Regions from separate parts of the Homo sapiens genome. Here all the other regions are linked to region 2. Evidence: promoter capture Hi-C in 16 types of primary human blood cells and fetal thymus (Javierre and others, 2016). All regions are on one chromosome and are shown on one strand. The core of a region is centred on a gene start or on the middle of the fragment in contact, and the rest is flanking DNA. Distances in the headings are between cores, read along the strand shown.

Region 1 (2,700 bases), core at 161-2,660, 70 kb after region 2:
ATCTGCCCGCTTTGGCTTCCCAAAGCGCTGGGATTACAGGTGTGAACCACTGTGCCCAGCCTATTATTACTATTATTATTATTATTTTTGAGACGGAGTCTTGCTCTGTCGCCCAGGCTGGAGTGCAGTGGCACAATCTCGCCAGCCTATTATTTTTTTAAGAGATCCTTCAAAACCTGGCCTTAACTCTCCTTTCCAGCATCATCTCTCATTTTTCACTCCAGTCACATAAATGTCTCACAATTCTACCTACTCCATACCTCCATATTTTTGGCTGGTGCAGTTCTCTCTTCGGGTAACTTTCTCCCTTCTTTCTGCCTTGTACACATTTTCTCTTTCTTCAAGACCAGTCTCAAAGGTCACAGCCTCTGTAATGCCTTCCCCCACTCTCAGGATTGAGCTCCCATTCCCACTGAACCTCGGCAAGTCTCCACCTATAGTACCTAGCACCCTGCATGTAACTCTCTTGTAGAAAAAAATCCATCTCCTTTGTTTTTTATTTATTTGTTTATTTATGTACGGAATCTCCCTTTGTCTCCCAGGCTGGAGTGCAGTGGTGCAATCATAGCTCACTGCAGCCTCCACTTCCTGTGCTCAATCCATCCTCCTGCCTCAGCCTCCCAAGTAGCTGGGACTACAGGCATGTGCAATCACACTCGGCTAATTTTGAAATTTTTTGTAGAGGTGGGGTCTCACTATGTAGTTGCCCAGGTTGATCTCAAACTCCTGCCCTCAAGCAGTCCTCCCACCTTGGCCTCCCAAGATGCTGGGCCAGGTGCTGTGGTACCATGCTAGATGGTATGTCACAGGTAGTCAGCGGTTCCTGGTAGTGACTATATTCAGAATGGTAGTTAAAAGTAATCAGTTTATTCTGCAGCAAGCACAGGGACACAGGAAGACAGTCCTGACTCCAGGGGCTAGCACCTGTTGGGGATTCTGGGATGCCAGGGCTAGCTCCAGTCCTAGGGAAACTGTATTGTCAGACAGGGCAACTGAGGCAGAAACCTTGGCCAACAGCAGAGAAGAGGAAAGGCAGGGGTCTGGTGGGCATCAGGGTTTCCAGGGCTCATCTCAGTCAGTTAGAGGAAGGCAATGGCTTTTTGGAGAACAGAATGAAGGACATATTGTGTGGGAAATGTCAGGGATGCCGCAAGGGAGGTGAATTAGCGGGGTGTGAACTCCATTGCTTAGCCTAAAGCTTTTCCTGGTCTTTCCATCTTCACTGGCCAAAGCAGCTGTCATACAATTGGGTCCTTTGCTGCTATGATTCCAGGGCTGGAAGGGTCCTTAAAGATATTCCAGCCAACGCCCTGGGTGATGCTAGAATTCCTTCTAGACTTTAGGCTTGATCCACACACTCCCAGAACTAGTAAAGCTCTCAGAGACCTGGGGACCTGGTATGCAGGGCCCACTCCTGCCTTCTCTGGGGGAATTTTCCCCACCGCCTCCTTTCTTTGCCTGGTCCAAGTCCCAGCTTCCAGAAAGAGGTCCATACCTGAGATACCTCCACTTCCTCCTCCTCCAGAGCCAGCTTAAAGTCAGGAGGCGGCACAAGTCCGCGAAGCTCAGAAAGTCCCCCAGATTCCTCTGTGGTCAAGCCAGTTTCATTCAATTGAAGCTTGTTCCCTGAGGATTTGTTCATGGGGGAGTTATTGTGTACTTGATTATAGTTCCCATGGCTACTGGCTCACAGTGTGAAGGGAATGGGCATACATCCACGTCCTCCTGCAAAATTGGGATTTGACCTCATTTATAACCAAACATGCAGCAGGCAACCTTGCAAATTACACAGCATGAAGAGAGTCCAGAGAGTTCTGAATGACTTAGTAGAAAATAACATTAAATAAAATAGTACATGCGGAAGGATGTGTTCTCTCCCTGGTTCAACTTAGGTGCATAATAGCTGTTCATAGCAGTATTAACCTTGACATCCAGGAGGGAGACCATTCAACTGAAAGGTTGCAAACTGGCAACCCTCAGTGGGAATCTCACCCATAGACCTATATATCCAATTTCAGAGTACTATGGTTTGAATGAGTCCCTCAAATCTCAGGTGTTGGAAAGTTAATCCCTGATGTAATACTGTTGAGAGGTGAGATCCTTAAGAGGCAATTAGGTCAATGGATTAATGCCATTATTTCAGGAATGGGTTTGTTATAAAAGCAAATTCAGCCCCCTCTTTCTCTCTCTCATGCTCTCTTGCCACGTGATGATGTCTCACCAGAGGCAGCTCCTGTATCTTGGACTTCACAGCCTCTAGAACCATAAGCCAAATAAATGTCTATTGTTCCTAAACTACGCAGACTGTGATATTCTGTGATAGCAACATGAAGTGGACACAGAGTGTTTAAAACTTGCTTTGAGTCAACTTAAAAAAAATCAGTATCTTTCACTGAAAAAAAAAAATCCAGGCCGGGTGCAGTGACTCACACCTATAATCCCAGCACTATGGGAGGCCGAGGTGGGTGGATCACGTGAGGCCAGGAGTTCAAGACCAGCCTGGCCAATATGGTGAATCCCTGTCTCTACTAAAAATACAAAAATTAGCCAGGTGTGGTGGCAGGCACCTGTAATCCCAGCTACTTGGGAGGCTGAGGCACGAGATTCGCTTGAACCCAGGAGGCAGAGGTTGCAGTGAGCCGAGATTGTGCCACTGCACTCCAGCCTGGGTGACAGAGCAAGATCCTGTCTCCAAAACAA
Region 2 (2,700 bases), core at 133-2,632:
TGCCAGGCCCAGTTTGGGACATTAGGGACTCCCAGATGAATCAGCCGCTCCAGTGGAACTCCCTGCTGGTGGGGGAGGCACTGGCGAAGCGGTGCTGAGCCGAGTCCTGACGGCGCTGGAGCTGAGGGGCAGTGCGGGATGCCCCAGGAAGGCTCCTAGGAAGAGGGGACCCACGGTGACTTCCTAAGGAAGCGCGGTTCCCAGGTAGAGGAGCGCATGTGAGCCAAGATCCCTAGGCCTGAGCCGTCTAGGTGTGTCCCAGGAACTGCAGGAAACGGTTGGGTGAGTCAGTGGTGGGCAGCGAGGGTGATAAGCCCCTTCGTGTCTTCGGGATGGTAAGTTTGGGGCACAGGTGAGTGAAGACCGAAGGCCAGGGGTGGACTGACACTCCGTGGCAGGCGCAGGGCCGGGCAGGGGGGCGGCTTGGGGGTGGCAAGGTTTGGGTGAGAAATGGCAGCCCATGGGGAACTACCGCAGGGCTCTGAGACCTTCAGAGCCAAGCCCCGACGCCCCTTCCCACCTGCGGGGCAGAACTGGGGATGGCAGGGGGGAGGGTGGTTCCCAAAGGAGATACCATCCCTGGTAAGGGGACATGGGCCCCTGGGAGTTGGGTTGGGCCACAAGGAGAGAGGCCTGAACGGCCAAAGGGAGGGGGCGTGGGGGAAGCCGCAGCATCAGACCTCTGCCTCCTCCCTCAGATCGTGAGGCTCCCCAGCCTGGCTCGGGAGACCCCGAGATCCCCGGCCGGTGACAGCAGGCGACCCCCTGCTCCTGTCAACCTGTGGGTCCCTACGGACGTGGGGAAGGGAGGAGGGAGGCCCCAGCTCCCTGCGGGGGAGGGGCGTGAAGACGCGCGGGGGTGGGGGGAGATGAGCCGGCGTCGCCATGACAACGAGGCCGGTGGTCCGGCCTTGGGGACCCGGGAGGGAGGGAGGCGCCGTGGCCGCGCGCGCGGGCGGGGGCGGGGGGCCAGGTCTCCCAGGAGTAGTTGGGGAACACCCGGCGATTCTGGCGGCTGCTTCCTGGTGGCGCAGGGAGCCCGCGTGTTTGCGAGTGCGTGTGTGTGCGAAGTTCTCCGGGTAAGTGTGCCAGCGCGCGCCTGGGTGTGTGCAAGGGTGTGAGCGTGCACACGTGGGCACGGGCGTGTGCGCGCGGGGGTGCCCGGTTGGATGTGTGCACACGAGTGTGTGCCGGTCCGCGTGCCCCTGCGTGAGTGTGCGCGCGCGAGCACACGTGTGTGTGCGCGCTCGCGTGCGCTCCCGAGCGGGCCCCGGGTGGGAGTCCGAGATCCCGCCCCCTCCCCAGCCCCAGCGCCCCTCCCCGTCCCCCGCCGCCGCGCCGGCTGCATCCTCGCCTCCACCTCGCTCACCCCCTCCTCCCCGCACTTTCTCGGCGCTCCCTCCCTCTCGGCTCGCACAGCTCGACTCCGCGCTCTCCTCGCCGGCCGCCGCCGCCCAGCCTGCGCCCGCCGTCCCCCCAGTGCCTGGGCACCTGTTGGAGGCAGAGGCAGGTGCAGGGGGCTGGGCAGGCCGGGGGCGTGAGGGTGCGGGGAAGCGTGCCAGCCTGTGTGCGCTACGGGGGTGTTCGGCTCTCCTGCGGCTGCAATTTCTGGCTCCCCTGAGGAGCCAGAGGTGGCATCTGAGGCTGGGGTCTCCACCGTGGGCTGTGGTGAGCGAGCGGGGGAACCAGGCAGGCAGACAGGTCCTGGGGCTGAATGAGGGGACAGTGGGCAGTTGGAGCCTAGAGGGGTGGGTGACACCCTGACTAGACCAGCGCCTGGTGCAGAGGAGGACAGAGCCTCCGAGAAACAGAGGCGGGGCCCTGCAGGGCCCCTTGGGGGACAGGCAGGCTCAGGAGCAGAGGGGAGCCCCGGAGGAGAGGAAGGAGCTGGCAAGATGATACAGGGACAACCTAGAAGTGGGTGGGTGAGGACGGGGTGGTGCAACCTCGACTTCTGCAAGGAGTGGGTTGGCAGCCCAGCCCCTGTGGAGTCAGCTTGGGGTCTGCAGGGCCCAGGCCTCCCACCTGCCACCGGCTGGCACACACCACCCTCTCCCTCGACACCTAGGAAGGGAGGCCAGTGAGGGCCCCACAGACCGAGGAGGCCGTCGCCTGGCCCTCAGCCAGGATGGCTAGGTATGATGGGCTCACTGGCTCACACGCCCTCTCCTAGCCAGGGGTGCTGCATGAGGGGCCGCAGGGGCGATCGCATGACCATCAACATCCAGGAGCACATGGCCATCAACGTGTGCCCCGGGCCCATCCGGCCCATCCGCCAGATCTCTGACTACTTCCCCCGGGGACCAGGACCTGAAGGGGGCGGCGGGGGCGGCGGGGAGGCCCCCGCCCATCTGGTCCCCCTGGCTCTGGCCCCCCCTGCAGCCCTCCTTGGGGCCACCACGCCTGAGGATGGTGCGGAGGTGGACAGCTATGACTCGGATGATGCCAGTGAGTCTGGGGGCTTGGAGGCCCCATGTGCTGGTGGGGGTCTCCAGGCTTGCCGTGGTGGGGGGAGAGGGGGATGGGCCCTGCTGGCTGTGCATGTAGGTAGGGGAGGAGGGCAGTGGGGGGGTGGCAGGGACGGCCACCACAGCTGCAGTCAGCGTGGAGATTACAGCTTCAGCAAGGCTCAATATTCAGTATTTCTGCTGAGACACTCCACCACCCACACAGCCCCAGTTGCGGCCGAGCCAGGGACCC
Region 3 (2,700 bases), core at 191-2,690, 110 kb after region 2:
AGAACAGCACATGTGGCATCTGTCAGGATTGGCCAGAAGGTTTTCATGATTTAGAGCACAGAGAGAGGGAAGAGAGGAAGGATTGGGAACTGATCCTGAGGCTAGTGTGCCCTGAAGTGTAGGACACATCCAGCTGGCAGCACAGGAGATGATTGGGGGCAAAACAAGGTCATGGCATGGAATAACAGAAAATTATTTCCTTTTCCATTTTCTTCCAGTCTTTAAGACATCAAAAAGTGCCAGGTGCGGTGGCTCACGCCTGTAATCTCAGCACTTTGGGAGGCCAAGGCAGGAGGATCACTTGAGTTCAGGAGTTCAGGTCCAGCCTGTCTTTACACAATTTTTTTTTCTTGTTTTTGAGATGAAGTTTCGCTCTTGTTGCCCAGGCTGGAGTGCAATGTTGTGATCTCGGCTCACTGCAACCTCCGCCTCCCGAGTTCAAGTGATTCTCCTGCCTCGGCCTCCCGAGTAGCTGGGATTACAGGCATGCGACACCACACCCAGCTAATTTTCTGTAATTTTAGTAGAGACAGGATTTCTCCATGTTGGTCAGCTGGTCTCGAACTCCCAGCCTCAGGTGATCCGCCTGCCTCAGCCTCCCAAAGTGCTGGGATTACAGGCGTGAGCCACCGCGCCTGGCCTACGTAAATTTTTAAAAAATCAGCCAAGCATGGTGGTGGGCACCTGTGGTCCCAGCTACTCAGGAGGCTGAGGTGAGAGGATCCTTTGATCTCAGGAGGTTAAGGCTGTAGTGAGCCATGTTTGTGCCACTGCACTCCAGCCTGGGTGACAGAGTGAGACCCTGTCTCAAAAAAAAAAAAAAAAGAAAAAGAAAAAATCTCAGTTTGGTGCTACTGTAACTTTGACACCCCACCAACCCTTTTAAAAAAGAAGGTGTAGGGCTAGGCACGGTGGCTCATGCCTGTAATCCCAGCACTTTGGGAGGCCGAGGCGGATTGATCACGAGGTCAGGAGATGGAGACCATCCTGGCTAACATGGTGAAACCCTGTCTTCACTAAAAATACAAAATAAAAAAAAATTAGCCAGGTGTAGTGGCAGGTGCCTGTAGTCCCAGATACTCGGGAGGCTGAGGCAGGAGAATGGTATGAACCCGGGAGGTGGAGCTTGCAGTGAGCCAAGATCGTGCCACTGCACTCTCGCCTGGGCGACAGAGCGAGACTCCTCAAAAAAGAAAAAAGTGTAGGCTTCAGGATCAGAGAGACTAGAGCACTTAACTAGAATGTTCTAGACTGTTGAAAGCTTTCTTTTTTAAATTTCAGCTTGTGTTTATGAGTACTTTCTTGTCACCCAGGCTGGAGTGCAGTAGCACAATCTCAGCTCACTGCAGCCTCAAACTGCTGAGCTCCAGTGAACCTCCCACCTCACCCTCTCCAGTAGCTGGGACCATAGGCATGGGCCACCGCGCCCGGCTAATTGTTTTATTATTTGTAGAGACAAGGTCTCACTGTGTTGTCCAGGCTTTTTATGAGTACTATTTAGGGCAAGTAATACTGATAGTGCTATAAATATTTCTTTTAAATACGTAGAACAAAAGGTCGGGGGGAGAGCCAAGGTGAAGAAACGCAGTACAGATGGGAATGACCACGGCAAAGCTTATGAAGGTGGTGTGCAGATAACCGAGGCTGAGGAAATGCTGCTGTGGGTGGCAACAGGGAGCCATGGAAGAAGAGAGGCACAATGAGAACCAGACAGCAGACGGCTCTGGCGGAGAGAAGGGTCTGGGGGGGAAATCATCGAGGCAAGGAGGTTGTCAGTAGGCGGCAGCTACTTACCCAGATGGCATCTGACCCGGGCATTGGTGGGCCCACAGCGGCCCTCGAGCCGGGCCCCAGGCAGGAGAACGGAAAAGCCGGCATTGCCGAAGGTGTTGGCACTCATAAAGCTTCGAAGCCCCCTCAGTGCCCGATAGGCCCCCGGGCACCGGCGGCAGTTGCTGGGTTGGCACCGGCCTGCTTGGTACAGCAGGAGCTGGTAGCACCCGGGGGCCAGAGGTGGGGACCAGCCCCGAGGCGGAGGGGTAGTCCCTGAGAAGTCCCAGCTCACAGCCCCGAAGTCCCGCAAAATGGCAGGGAAGCTGCTCTCCAGGAGCTCCACGTCGTGCCGCTGGGCGTCCCGCGGCACAAAGGGGGCTGAAGGCAGGTCTGGTAGGAAAAGCAGGCCTGGGCGCTGAATACCTAGGACCCCTGGCCCTCTCCCAGGGCCTGGGCCACCCTGAGCTGCCCGCCTCACTCTACCCATCCCAGCCCAGGAGTAGCGCCTTGCGTAGGCCCGAAGCCGCCGGCTCACTAGGCCTTCCGTCCTAGGTCCTTCCCCGGGATCCCCAGGACCCCCTGGGCTTGGCCCGCCGGCCTCCGAGCATCCCACAGGCCCACCACGAACACCCCCAGCTCGGCTCCCAGCCCCTAGGGCCTGCATGTCTTGGGAGCCCAGGCGGTAGCAGTACCAGAGGAACAGGGAAGTGAGGGCCCCGAAGAGCAAGGTGAGGGCCGAGGAGGCCAGGGGTAGTGGCCACGGGAGCATGATCAGGGAGGCCCTGGCCAAGAGGCCTGGGGCGTCCTCCGGACCCCAGTTCCCCTGTCCCCCCAGCTCCCCACCTGTCCCTTCCATGGCTGCCCCCTGGCTCCCCGCTGGACTGTTTCCCTTCCACATTCCACTCTGGGCTGTCTCTCTCTCCTTCC

What was found. Contacts are between HindIII fragments. The CHiCAGO score rates a contact against its expected background, and 5 or more counts as called.
Region 1: a fragment that was not itself captured here is called in contact with the fragment with the promoter of DOC2A in region 2 in 1 of 17 cell types (M1 macrophages); the score reaches 5.5 in M1 macrophages.
Region 3: a contact is called between a fragment that was not itself captured here and the fragment with the promoter of DOC2A in region 2, in 6 of 17 cell types (megakaryocytes, endothelial precursors, erythroblasts and 3 more). The highest score is 8.0, in megakaryocytes.

What each region holds. Positions count from the first base shown.
Region 1 is chr16:29,939,813-29,942,512 of GRCh38, reverse strand. No RefSeq gene overlaps it. Among named protein-coding and RNA genes, the nearest start is that of KCTD13, 15 kb to the right of the region's middle. The HindIII fragment of the contact is 420 bases long and covers 1,201-1,620 here.
Region 2 is chr16:30,009,709-30,012,408 of GRCh38, reverse strand. DOC2A (double C2 domain alpha) reads left to right here and starts at 1,382. Exons shown (of 11, transcript NM_003586.3): 1 at 1,382-1,506; 2 at 2,174-2,448. The coding sequence starts at 2,187. RefSeq lists a silencer at 1,416-1,475. The HindIII fragment of the contact is 12,263 bases long and covers 1-2,700 here.
Region 3 is chr16:29,901,015-29,903,714 of GRCh38, reverse strand. It overlaps ASPHD1 (aspartate beta-hydroxylase domain containing 1), which reads right to left. Exons shown (of 3, transcript NM_181718.4): 1 at 1,795-2,700. Among named protein-coding and RNA genes, the nearest start is that of ASPHD1, 1.9 kb to the right of the region's middle. RefSeq lists an enhancer at 1,502-2,206. The HindIII fragment of the contact is 353 bases long and covers 1,264-1,616 here.